3 separate regions of the Homo sapiens genome follow, and regions 2 and 3 are each linked to region 1. The links are contacts of gene promoters, found by promoter capture Hi-C in human tissues and cell types (Jung and others, 2019). All regions are on one chromosome and are shown on one strand. Each heading gives the region's core, a stretch centred on a gene start or on the middle of the fragment in contact. The rest is flanking DNA. Distances are from core to core; before and after follow the strand shown.

What was found. The method cuts DNA at HindIII sites, captures the fragments that hold promoters and counts their contacts. A contact is called where the count stands out against the background at its distance.
Region 2: a contact is called between a fragment that was not itself captured here and the fragment with the promoter of CXADR in region 1, in 1 of the 25 tissues and cell types used here (lymphoblastoid cells).
Region 3: a fragment that was not itself captured here is called in contact with the fragment with the promoter of CXADR in region 1 in 1 of the 25 tissues and cell types used here (dorsolateral prefrontal cortex).

The regions. Positions count from the first base shown.
Region 1 is chr21:17,510,422-17,514,809 of GRCh38, forward strand. It overlaps CXADR (CXADR cell adhesion molecule), which reads left to right and starts at 2,622. Exons shown (of 7, transcript NM_001338.5): 1 at 2,622-2,751. The coding sequence starts at 2,709. RefSeq lists silencers at 2,073-2,192, 2,253-2,792. The HindIII fragment of the contact is 6,448 bases long and covers 1,128-4,388 here.
Region 2 is chr21:16,389,949-16,394,409 of GRCh38, forward strand. It overlaps MIR99AHG (mir-99a-let-7c cluster host gene), which reads left to right. Exons shown (of 10, transcript NR_136541.1): 5 at 1,666-1,737. Among named protein-coding and RNA genes, the nearest start is that of SNORD74B, 110 kb to the left of the region's middle. The HindIII fragment of the contact is 4,617 bases long and covers 337-4,461 here.
Region 3 is chr21:15,742,802-15,746,975 of GRCh38, forward strand. All of the region lies in intron 1 of USP25 (ubiquitin specific peptidase 25), which reads left to right. It also overlaps the pseudogene RBPMSLP. Among named protein-coding and RNA genes, the nearest start is that of USP25, 15 kb to the left of the region's middle. RefSeq lists an enhancer at 1-150. The HindIII fragment of the contact is 4,683 bases long and covers 336-4,174 here.

The DNA of each region.
Region 1 (4,388 bases), core at 1,372-3,871:
TCCTCCTCCTTTTCTTCTTCTTTCTGCTTCCTTCTCCTTCTTGGATCAAGGCTCTCTGCAACCTCTGCCTCCTGGGCTCACTTTATTAGCTCCACTTACTGAGATCCTGCTTACCGGGTTCCTGCACATAGTAAGTGGAAGATAACAAAACTAATATTGGATAATATTTGTCCTCCTACCTCAGCCTCCGGAGTAGCTGGGACTACAGGCACTGCGCGCCATCACATCCGGCTCATTTTTTATTTTTAGTAGATATGGGGGGTCTTGCCATGTTGCCCAGGCTGGTCTCGAACGCCTGGGCTCAGGCGATCGTCCACCTCTGCCTCCCAACATGCTGGGAGTTCGAGACCAGCCTGGCCCATATGGTGAAACCCCGTCTCTACTAAAAATACAAAAATTAGCCGGGCGTGGTGGCGCGCGCCTGTAGTCCCAGGTACTCGGGAAGCTGAAGCAGAAGAATCGCTTGAACCTTGGAGGCGGAGGTTGCAGTGAGCCGAGATGGGGTCACTGAACTCCAGCCTGGGCGACAGAGCGAGTATAGAAAAGTTCTCGTAGAACACTGTTAAACAGATGAACAACTTCAATACTTGCTCTTCTCTGCTTGATTTCATTTAGTGTGGTGAGTAAAAATTTAAATTCCAAATATTATTTACACGCAATTATATCCAGTAGAATTCCTGTTTGCTCAAATGGGAAGTCCCTAGCCGTTACTCATGTTGTCTTACGTCTGTATTGAACTCTTATTAGTTTGTAAAAGCTTTGGCAGAACTTTACAATCAGATGGTATGATTTTGCAAAGCCACTTCCTCTTACTACCACTGGTCATCTGTCATTTATTGGGCTGCCGTAAAGCAGGATTCCCCTTAAATCAAATTAAATTGGAATCACTTGAGTAAGGCTCAGGTACTAGTATATATATACATATATAGATAGATAGATAGATAGATATATTTTTTTTTTTTTTGAGACGGAGTCTCGCTGTGTCGCCCAGGCTGGAGTGCAGTGGCGCAATCTCGGCTCACTGCAAGCTCCCCCTCCCGGGGTTCACGCCATTCTCCTGCCTCAGCCTCCCGAGTCGCTGGGACTACAGGCGCCTGCAACCACGCCTGGCTAATTTTTTGTATTTTTAGTAGAGACAGGGTTTCACCGTGTTAGCCAGGATGGTCTCGATCTCCTGACCTCATGATCCGCCCGCCTGGGCCCCCAAAGTGCTGGGATTACAGGCGTGAGTCACCGCGCCCAGCCAGGCACTAGTATTTTTAAAACATTCTCCAAGTAATTTTCATGTGCAGCCAGAATTGCAACTCACCAGGCTAAACTGCAGTTGCGCAATTCTGGTCTTCTTGATACCTGATTTCTTTGCCCCTTCTCTTTTCTGGTTCAATGCATAATAAGAATTTTCCAATATTAGTTTTATTAGCTTCCACTTACTGAATTCTGCTTACGGGGGTTCCTGCTTAGTCTAGATAGTAAGCAGGAACTTACAAACTATGTAAGCTTATAGACTACATAAGCAGGAACCCTGTAAGCAAGAACTCAGTAAGTGGAAGCTAATTAAAACTACGTGCCAGGCAGGGTGCCAAGCATTTTTTGTGCATTATCTCATTTAACTTTCATAGCAACCCCGAAGTAGGTGCCATTTCTATGAAACCTGCCCAGTTACTGCCCCACTCCGCGGAATAAGCTCTTACCCACCGCTCCTCTTCTTCAATTCATTTCTGTTATGGAACTGTCGCGGCACTACAAAGTCTCTATGTAGTTATAAATAAACGTTATCTGGAAGAGCAGCCGACAACAACTTTCAAGATCTCCAATTCCCCGACCCCACACTCCAACTGACGCCTTCAACCACAACTACTGAGCCCCACTTTCAAAGCTCACTCACTAATATTGGATAATAGTTGTCTGCCTACCTCAGCCTCCGGAGTAGCTGGGACTATAGCGTCTTACTAGCCAGCTTCAGGGCTAGAATAGCCTTTCTGTGCAAGTGGAAAAAACCTCAGGTATTTCCCAAATCGGTAGCTGCAGAGGGGCTCTATCCCTACCAGAGATGGAGAAAAGCCCTCTCGCGCTTTTTATGTCAGCCAGAGCGGCTCGTTAAGAGAGCGAAGGCCAGGGGCTGCACAGGTCGCATCCCGTGAGCATGAGGTCAGAGAACCTGCCCCTGGGGCAAACCGCGAGGGGTGGGACGGGTGGGTGCAGGCGGGGCGGAGGGTAGGAGCCGCCCTAGTGGCGGCCCCTGGGAGTGTCCCGTGCCTCGCCTTAAAGGAGGGCGCCAACGCAATTTCAGTATGTGGGAGACGGGCTGCCCCACCCCCGCGCGCAAAACCCTGGTTTAGCTTAAGGGATGGAGGCGGGGACCCCTGCGCAGGCTTGCGGCGTGGGAGGCGGCCGCCCGCGACCTACGACGCCGCGCGCCGGGAGGCTGAGAGTTCGGCGCCGGGAGGGTCCCGGGGACAGAAGAGCGCCTCGCCCGGTTGCCAAGGCAACCCCACGCGGCTGGAGAAGCCGGCGCTCGCAGCCCGGCCCGGGCCGCTGCCGGAAGTGACGCGAGTTCACCTGCCGAGCGGGGGCTGGGAGGAGGGGCGGAGGGTGCAGAGGTGCCGCCGCCGCCGCGAGCCAGTCGGGAGCGCGCGAGGCGCGGGGAGCCTGGGACCAGGAGCGAGAGCCGCCTACCTGCAGCCGCCGCCCACGGCACGGCAGCCACCATGGCGCTCCTGCTGTGCTTCGTGCTCCTGTGCGGAGTAGTGGGTGAGTAGGGGCCATGGGGTCCTCAGCACCCGCCCAGCCCGGGGGCGCTCGCTGCCCGCGGCCACCCAGGAACAATGGGGCGTGGGGGAGGGGGCGGGCGCGATTTGGGGGCGCTGCTGCAGGGGCGGCGGGGCGGGCAGAATTGCACAGGGGCGCTTTTGCTGGGCCGGGCGCTCCTGGAGCCGTCCCGTAGGGAGCCGCGCAGGGCGCGCGGAGTGCCCGGGGACGGAGCCCTCGGCGGGGGGTGGAGGCGGAGGGGCTCGGGCGCGGCGTGTCGGGTGCGCCTCGCAGCTCTCCCATAGCATTCTCTGCCCCGGTGCGGGCTTGCCTTTCTTTGCTCTCGCCGTCTCCCTTGTCAGCCTTCGTGTCGGTTCTCTCCAGCGTTACCCGATTTCAAAAACCTTGGGCGGCGAGTTTTCAGGTGTCGAGTCGCCCAGGCGGGGAGGCTGAATTGCAAACGCCATTATTCAATGGACATGGAGCTGCCCGGTGCCTCGGATCGGCCAGGCTACCTCTAGGAAAGAGGCGCTGAGCGAACGCCAGCCTGGACGGTGTTAGTCTCCTGGAAGCAGCTCGCCCAGGCAGGAGCTGCTAACCAGACGCGCATTGTGAAGGAGACCGTGGAAAATCAAAAGTGGGTTCCTGCAAAAATGTAGCATTGGTTTCTGCAGTCCTTGGGCGAAGTGCAAAGGAGAATTCAGTGACCTCGTTTTTGAGTTTGTAATGAGTCGTTCATTTTGGAGATAAGACGGGCTGAGTTGTACAGGGTAATTGCTAGAGGATTTGCCAAGTGCGTTTGTCGACTGCTCCTTTCTCTGGGAGGGGAAAAAAGGCATGTGAAAAATGCGTGGACCATTAGGAGGCGTAATCATTTTGACACTTTAAAAAACGGATTTTCCATGTCGGTGTTTTAACCAACTGATCTTGTTTGTCAAACTAAGCACTTGCTGCGTTTTATAACCAAATAATTCATTTTTAAAAATCCGTAGGTGGGATCCTAGGAGGCGCACTTAGTATAGCCTCTGGAAGGGTAATTTTTTGTTGTTAGGTGCTCTGAAGCAGGATCTAGTGGCCCTTTCTGTTGGGATGGCTCTCTGCTTCCTGTTGAAATGTTAATTCCATTGTTGGATGCCACAGCTGTGAGCATTACTCATGGGATCAACATTCTATTAGCAAGTCTAATCTTCGATCTGAGCCTATAGCACTACCTCCACCTTTTTGATATATATCATTTAGACTTGGCGGGCTGAAATGTCCAAAGTAAGCCTTCCGGAGAAGATGAAGGGTCATAGAACCAGTTTACAGGTACATTCCCACCTTTCTTTCTTTTTTTTCTTTTTTTTGTCTAGGCCGAACCTGAAGATGAAGTTGAGAACACAGTGTGTTCTCTGGGAAAAAAAAAAAAAATAGTTTTAGACCACATCTAAAGCAGAAAAGTGGAAGAACATAAATTATGTGGAGGAACTTTTTTTTTTTTTTAAATGGAGTTTCGCTCTTGTTGCACAGGCTGGAGTGCAATGGCGTGATCTTGGCTCACCACAACCTCCGCCCCCCGCGTTTAAGCGATTCTCCTGCCTCAGCCTCCTGAGTAGCTGGGATTACAGGCACCCCCCACCATGCCCGGCTAACTTTTTTAT
Region 2 (4,461 bases), core at 1,395-3,894, 1.1 Mb before region 1:
CTATTCTCATTTTTGCTGCTTGTCTTTTCAAATATAGGCATTCCACAGGTTTATTCTCCAACCATGCCGTGTTTAGAGAATGCTCAAATGCTCCCAAAACTTCAGTTATCACCTTCGTGCAACTGACTCAATCTTTACCTTGAATTTGCATATTCATCCTGAACTTTTTGTTCTGAATTTCCCATAGGTACTACAGATTCAACTAGGCACTAAACTGAGATTATTAGTTCCCCTTATAAACATCAATTTATTTCTCCTACTCTCACTCCCTGATTTGGGCTGAAGTTAAATTCAGTGTTTAGGTTCTCCCATCCCACTTGTCCTCTGCCTCCTAAACCATATTATTCTTTTAATCTGGACTATTCTCTCCCTCTGTCACTTTATGTTTGAACATGATAATTTTTCATTTAGGTACAGCTTGAGTTCTATCTCAGTGATACCTACCCTATTCAATTCAGAAAGAATGAAAGAACTCTCATGTAATTAACTTCATTGCATCGTGTTTCATCATTAGTTGTAGACATGTCTGTATTGTTTTCCTCATCAGAATGTAAGTCTCTCAAGCGATCTTTGTGGAACTTGTAAGTCGGTCATTACCTTCTTTCTTTCTTTCTTTTTTTTTTTTTTTTTGAGACAGAGTCTCGCCCCGTCGCCCAAGCTGGAGTGCAGTGGTGCAATCTCCACTCACTGCAAGCTCCGCCTCCCAGGTTCACACCATTCTCCTGCCTCAGCCTCCTGAGTAGCTGGGACTACAGGCGCCCGCCACCATGCCCGGCTAATTTTTTGTATTTTTAGTAGAGGTGGGGTTTCACCTTGTTAGCCAGGATGGTCTCGATCTCCTGACCTCGTGATCCGGCCGCCTCAGCCTCCCAAAGTGCTGGGATTACAGGCATGAGCCACCACACCCGGCCGCTCATTACCTTATTTCTATAATGATTTGTGAATTGGCCTGAAATAACTCATCCCTGCTTTGTTGTTGTTGTGTTGTGTTTTGTGATTCAGCCCTGTAAACGGCATGCTCCTCCCAGGAATGATAATGCTACACTGTAACACAGATCATTGGTGTTTCAAAAAACCCATCCATCCATGTCTTCATTTATTTGCAAAACAAGGGCAGGAAAAACTAGAATTAAATCGTTAATTCTCTCTCGGTCTCTCAGGGCAATATGTTGGGCAGTTACTTGAGTGAGATATTTTTTATCAAACCAAATATGCTGAGGCAGGAATAACATCAAAGGTGTTTGTGATGTACTGTTGCTCTCATTAGTTACCTGCAGATCAAACAGGTATCTGTTCTAACACTTCGATTTTGAAACTTAATGCTGTGTTTGTTAAATTTACTTAATTAGGACCTCTTAACACCTCAGATAGTCGCTTAAAACAACAACAACAAAAACAACAGTAATACCCAGCTGTTAGCCCTGCGGATGAAACAATAAATGCAAAGTTAACACTTTTTAAAGGTGAATATGTACATTTTGATGCCTCGACAGCATTCAGTAAAAATCAAGTGTGCTTAGAGATAATCTACTAAGTTGCTGATTGTTTCTGGACCTGTAACTCTTAATAAATATTGCAAATATCTAAAAGATATGGATCATTATTTAGGGGAAATGTATGTGTATGCATAAATGCAATCTTTTATAATCTAAAAATACTTTTCAGGAGCTCTTTCTGAGATGAAGAGAATTCTCAATGTCAAGATTTGAACAAGAAGAGAATGGAATACACAATATGGTAAGTGACTTGCAAAAAAGATCAATGTGACCACATTTCTAGTGCTCCATTGGGCAGTTATCACTTGTAAGTTGCATGCATAGAAAAATGCATACTTATGGTAGTCACTGTTGCAAGCAGTTCTGAAATATTAACACAGTTGATCAAAATTGTTCCACTCCTAAAAGCTTATTTTGATAAACTTGGTGTAAAAGATACTTGGCTATCACTCATGGCAGGTGATTTTACTCTAATTTTTAATTAGGGAAAATTAAGGTTGCTTATGTGATTAATGTCACGCACGTCCATGTGAAGAGACCACCAAACAGGCTTTGTGTGAGCAATAAAGCTTTTTAATCACCTGGGTGCAGGTGGGCTGAGTCTGAAAAGAGAGTGAGCAAAGTGTGGTGGGATTATCGTTAGTTCTTATAGGTTTGGGATAGGCGGTGGAGTTAGGAGCAGGGGGTAGATCTCACAAAGTACATTCTCAAGGGCAGGGAGAGTATTACAAAGTACCTTTTCAAGGGTGGGGGAATATCACAAAGTACCTTCTCAAGGGTGGGGGAATATCACAAAGTAACTTCTCAAGGGTGGGAGAATATCACAAAGTACCTTCTCAAGGGTGGGGAAATATCACAAAGTACCTTCTCAAGGGTAGGGGAATATCTCAAAGTACATTATCGCAAGGGCGGGGAGGGTGTATTGTCATAAGGTCAATTGATCAGTTAGGGTGCGGCAGGAACAGGTCACAATGGTGGAATGTCGTCAGCTAAGGCAGGACCTGGCTATTTGCACTTCTTTTGTGGATCTTCAGTTGCTTCAGGCCATCTGGATGTATACATGCAGGTCACAGGGGATATGATGGCTTAGCTTGAGCTCAGAGGCCTGACATTCCTGTCTTCTTCTGTTAATAAGAAAAACAAAACAAAATGGTGGTGAAGTGTTGGGGTGGCAAAAATTTTTGCGGGTGGTATGGAGAGATAATGGGCGATGTTTCTCAGGGCTGCTTTGAGCAGGATTAGGGGCAGTGTGGGAACCTAGAGTGGGAGTGATTAAACTGAAGAAAGATTTTGGGGTAAGGGGTGATATTGTGGGGTTGTTAGAAGCAGCATTTGTCATATAGAGTGATTAGTGATAGTCTGGATGCAGTTTTGTAGGAATTGAGAGATTAATTGGAAGACACAAGGGCCAAGTAAGAGAAAGAGAAAAACAGGTATCAAAGGACTAAGAATTGGGAGGACCCAGGACATTCAACTAGAGAGTGCCCAAGGGGGTTCAGCCTAATTATTTGCTTGTTTGATGAGTTTTTGGGCTCTATCCTTGCATTTTTTTATGTTGTCATATACCAGGCCAGACTGATTTAGGTAAAAACAACACTCTTCATTTAAAAATACACAGAGTCTTCCTTTTTCAGCAGTGAGTAAGTCAAGGCCTGTTCCTGTTTTCTTATATTAATAATAATAATAAAAAAACAAAATAGAAGTAAAGTGTTAGTGTCATGAGGGGAACAGGAAGCTGTTCGGTCCTATTTGCAAATTGATTTTGGGGGTAAGGCTAACTAGTGTACATGTGCCTGTCTAATTAATAGGTAGACACATGTAGGTGAAGGAGCCACAGAGGAGGAAGACATCTTTTTTATTATTATTATTATTATTATTATTATACTTTAAGTTTTAGGGTACATGTGCACAATGTGCAGGTTAGTTACATATGTATACGTGTGCCATGCTGCTGTGCTGCACCCATTAACTCGTCATTTAGCTTTAGGTATATCTCCTAATGCTATCCCTCCCCCTTCCCCCCACCCCACAACAGTCACCAGAGTGTGACGTTCCCCTTCCTGTGTCCATGGGTTCTCATTGTTCAAATCTCACCTATGAGTGAGAACATGCGGTGTTTGGATTTTTGTCCTTGCGATAGTTTACTGAGAATGATGATTTCCAATTTCATCCATGTCCCTATAAAGGACACGAACTTCTCATTTTTTATGGCTGCATAGTATTCCATGGTGTATATGTGCCACGTTTTCTTAATCCAGTCTATCATTGTTGGTCGTTTGGATTGGTTCCAAGTCTTTGCTATTGTGAATAGTGCAATAAACATACGTGTGCACGTGACTTTATAGCAGCATGATTTATAGTCCTTTGGGTATATACCCAGTAATGGGATGGCTGGGTCAAATGGTATTCCTAGTTCTAGATCCCTGAGGAATCGCCACACTGACTTCCACAATGGTTGAACTAGTTTACAGTCCCACCAACAGTGTAAAAGTGTTCCTATTTCTCCACAACCTCTCCAGCACCTGTTGTTTCCCGACTTTTTAATGATTGCCATTCTAACTGGTGTGAGATGGTATCTCATTGTGGTTTTGATTTGCATTTCTCTGATGGCCAGTGATGGTGAGCATTTCTTCATGTGTTTTTTGGCTGCATAAATGTCTTCGTTTGAGAAGTGTCTGTTCATGTCCAAGAAGAGAACTTTGTAAGGCAAAACTGGAAATGTAAAGTGAAAAGACAAGAGGGAGCACCAAAACAGGTGTCTTGCACCCAGACTCTTAGGGATTTAGTAAGGGCAGCAGCCGTTAGAGGTTGTAATGGGGATTGATGGAGCAACTGGGTAGAAGGGGAGGTTTGATTTTTATGGTGTATGAGAAAGTACAAAGTGTCTACGAGTAACCGTTCACTGCTATTCATGGGGCTGGGTATAAGCAAGCAAGAGGAGGGGCTAAGAGGAGAGTCCAAAGAA
Region 3 (4,174 bases), core at 1,427-3,926, 1.8 Mb before region 1:
TCGCTCTGCCTGCTCGGCCCAGCAGGGTGCTCTCAGCTGATCCCCAGCCCAGATCCCACGACCACTGCCACTCCGTGCTCAGCCCATGGCGGGACTGGGTATACCGCATGTGGCTTCCACAGCTGGACTCCAGCATTCAGATGAGGGGAACGTGGTGGAACCCAGAAACTCGGAGACGGCAGCAACCGTGGAGCCCCAAGGGGGTGTCATAGCTTCTGCCTGGGGAGTCCCGAGGTCTGAGCCACCAGGGAATGCCACAGCCCTCTCTTGTTCCTGCCGCTCACAGCTCCCTGAATGGGGGTGTGTTAGAGCTTGTTTATTCCTGCTGCGCATGGCTTTGTGAATGGGGGTGTATTATGGTTCTAGTTCGAGGGGTCCTGATGTTTGGGCCCCCAGAGGGGTCGCGGCTCATCACTCCCATATTCCAGCAATTGGGAGTGTGTAACAGCTCTTTTCATGCCCACTGCCCACAGCTCCAGGAGCCAGCCAGGTGCGTGTTACAGCCGTTCTTTGTTCCCACCGTTTGGCGAGTTCTGGGTTTTTGTCCAGTGACCAAGAATAATGAGGTACGTGGACACCAGAGAGTGAGGAAGGCAGAGAAGAATGTTATTGAGCAACAGAAAAGCTCTTGACAATGAGAGGGGACGTGAAGTGGATAGCCCTCTGTGTGAGGGGGCCCCAAAAGCTGGTAGCCATCTTTGCAGTTGAGTCCAGGGTTTTTTTAGGTTTGGAATGAGGAGATGTGGGCTGGAGGTAGCCTTGGAAAAGGCAACATTCAATTGGTTTAAAAGCATTATTCGGAAAGAACCAATTGGGAAAGAGTAGGCAAAAAGAAAAGTTTTCACTCCAGCTGTGGACTCTATCTATATCTAGAACAGGCAGCTTGGTAGGCTTTAAACTGTCTTTGGTTTGAAGGTCAGGTTTCACCAGGGACCTGTCCCTGCCTGCCTAGGAGTTGGTCTACTGTGGCGCCTGCCTAGGAATTGGTCTACTGTGGCGCCTGCCTAGGAATTTGTCTACTGTCCCTGCCTGCCTGGGAATTTGTCTACTGTGGCTATCAGAAACAGCTCTGCGCAGGCCTCCTGGGGTCAGTGGACACTCTCTTTACCAATTTTGGTAGCATCATGCAGATTTGCAGAACTGGCTTCTAGGCTTCTTCCCAAGTGAGGCAGGAATTGAAGTCACTTAGAACAGTGGAACTTACAGAACTGACAGTGTTTCCATTCTTGCTGGGTGGCGCCAGGAGGAGAGCACCAGTGTACCTGAGCATGTCGAACTGTAGCAGAGTAGCTGAAAGCAGCATATAAGATGACCCTGGTCAGCTCTGTGGTTTCTATGGTGTAAAGTGGGTAGGGGTTTCAGGCCTTTGGGGTTACAGAGATCAGAGCCACTCCCTCAGGTCATGGGGTCCTGTGCTAGGAGGTGTGGTCCTAGGGCTGTGTGAACATTGGTGGGGTTTGCCATTACTTTATTTTTGTCCATCTTGGTGTTGGCTTAGGCAAACCTTAGGGTCTGCGTTTTTTTGTTGTTGTTGTTATTTTTGAGACAAAGGTCTCACCGTGTCACCCAGGCTGGAGTGCAGTGGTGCAATCTGGCTCACTGCAACCTCTGCCTCCTGGGTTCAAGTGATTGTCATGCCTCAGCATCCCACATAGCTGGGACTACAGGTACACGCCACCAGGCCTGGCTAATTTTTATGACGGGGTTTTGCCATGTTGGCCAGGCTGGTCTTGAACTCCTGACCTCAAGTGATCTTCCTGTCTCGGCCTCCTAGGGTCTGCAGTTTTGTTGTTGTTGTTGTTTTGGGGCAGAGCTTCGTTCTTGTTGCCCAGGCTGGAGTGCAGTGGTGTGATCTCAGCTCACGGCAGCCCCCACCTCCCAGGTTCAAGCGATTCTCCTGCCCCAACCTCCTGAGTAGCTGGGACTACAGGTGCCTGCCACCACACCCGTCTAATTTTTGTATTTTTACTAGAGATGGGGTTTTCCATGTTGTCCAGGCGAGTCTTGAACTCCTGACCTCAGGTGATCCACCTGCCTCAGCCTCCCAAAGTGCTGGGATTACAGGCGTGAGCCACCGCACCCCGCCGGGTCTGCCGCTTTTGAATGAAAGTAAATGCTCTTCCAAGCATTTCTTGCATGAGCAGAAGAGTGTGTAGAATTCTCTCGGTTTGCTGTCTAAAGCAAGAGGGCTGACTGACCACTTTAGGGCCACGGCCTCCATCCCCGCCACTTCCCCTCCCTTCCCCTCCCTTCCCACTCCTTCTTTTCCTGAGTGCTGATGTTGTTCTGCCTTAAGCTTCTAAGCAGGGGCATCTTTTATGGTCGGGGGGAGGGAGGTGTGGGAGGCAGGCAGGGGATGTTGCAGGAGAGCTACTGATAACCCAGGGCCTCTGTCTTTTCCTTATTGACCATTTTTATGTCTTCTTTTTAACATGTTAAGATTATTTCCCAATTTCTTAGTTGGGTTATCTTCTTGCTGTTGAGTTGTAGGAATTCTTTATATTTTGGTTGTCTTTTATCATGTATATGTAATTACAAATACTTTCTCCCAATGTGTGGCTTGTATTTGCATTTTCTTAACAGTTTCTTTGAAGTTGAAGTATTTTAATATTGATTGTTTAATTTACTTTTATGGTTAGTACTTTAACCATTTTCTTTTTCTTTTTCTTTTCTTTTTTTTTTTTTTTTTTTGTGACGGAATTTCACTCTTATTGCCCAGGCTGGAGTGCAATGGCATGATCTCACTCACTGCAGCCTCCGCCTCCCTGGGTTCAAGCGATTCTTCTGCCTCAGCCTCCTGAGTAGCTGGGATTACAGGCATGCACCACCACGCTCAGCTAATTTTTGTATTTTTAGTAGAGACAGGGTTTCACCATGTTGGCCAGCCTGGTCTCGAACTCGCGACCTCAGGTGATCCGCCCGCCTCGGTCTCCCAAAGTGCTGGGATTACAGGCGTGAGCCACCACGCCCGGCTGCTTTAACCATTTTCTTGAAACTTAGTTTGTAAATTTTTTCTCCCTGTGTTTTGTTCTAGAAGTTTTGCCATTTTAGGTTTACGATCCATTTGGAATTCATTTCTGTGTGTGTTCTGAGGTGTCACTAAGTCAAGGTTCATTTATTGCATGTGGAATCTAGTCCCAGCACCTACTTTTGAAAAAGCTGTCCTTTCATCATTGAATTATATTGGTACCTTTATGGAAAATTAATTGATCATGTATGAGTGGGTTTATTTTTGAACTCAGTTCCTTTCTATCCTTATGTGGTGCCGTTCTTTCTTGATTACTGTGGCTTTGAAATGTGCCTTGAAGTGGGTGAATGTAAATTCTTCAACTTTGTTCTTGTTAGAAATTTGTTTTGGCTATTCTAGAATTTTTTGTATTTCCATATACAATTCTGAGGTACTTTGAACAGTTGGACAAAGAGCCTTCTGGGGTTTCTGAGTAGGATTGTGTTGGATGTATGGATTCTTTCTGACTGTTTGGACATCTTTACAGTATTTTAGCCTTTCAATCCAAGAACACATATATTTCTCCATTTATTTAGGTTTTGTTTTTTAACGGTTTAAAGGTCTTTGCATATCTTTTGTTACAGTTGACTTTTTTGATGCTATTGTAAGTGGTATTTTTTATTTTTATTTTTATTTTTTTTGAGACGCAGTCTCACTTTCACTGCAACCGCCGCCTCCCAGGTTCAAGCGATTCTCCTGCCTCAGCCTCCCTAGTAGCTGGGACTACAGGTGTGTGCCACCACACCCGGCTAATTTTTTGTATTTTTAGTAGAGATGGAGTTTCACTGTGTTATAGCCAGGATAGTCTTGATCTCTGGACAGCATGATCCACCAGCCTCGGCCTCCCAAAGTGCTGGGATTACAGTTGTGAGCCACTGCACCCTGCCAGTGGTTTTTAGTTTTTATTCCAATTGTTTTTTGCTGGTATATAGAATGTGGTTGATTTTTCTGTATGAAGCTTGTATCTGCGACTTTGCGAAATTCACTTATTCTAATAAATGTATTTACCACTTTTATTCATTTTAAAAATTGTGCTTTTTGGGGTATTCTCTAAAATGTTTAATAGAAGTGGTAATGACAGACATCTTTGTCTTGTTCCCGATTTTGTATGGAAAGCAGTCTTTTACTACTAAGTATGGTTTTAGTTGTTGCACTTCTTATTTTGTT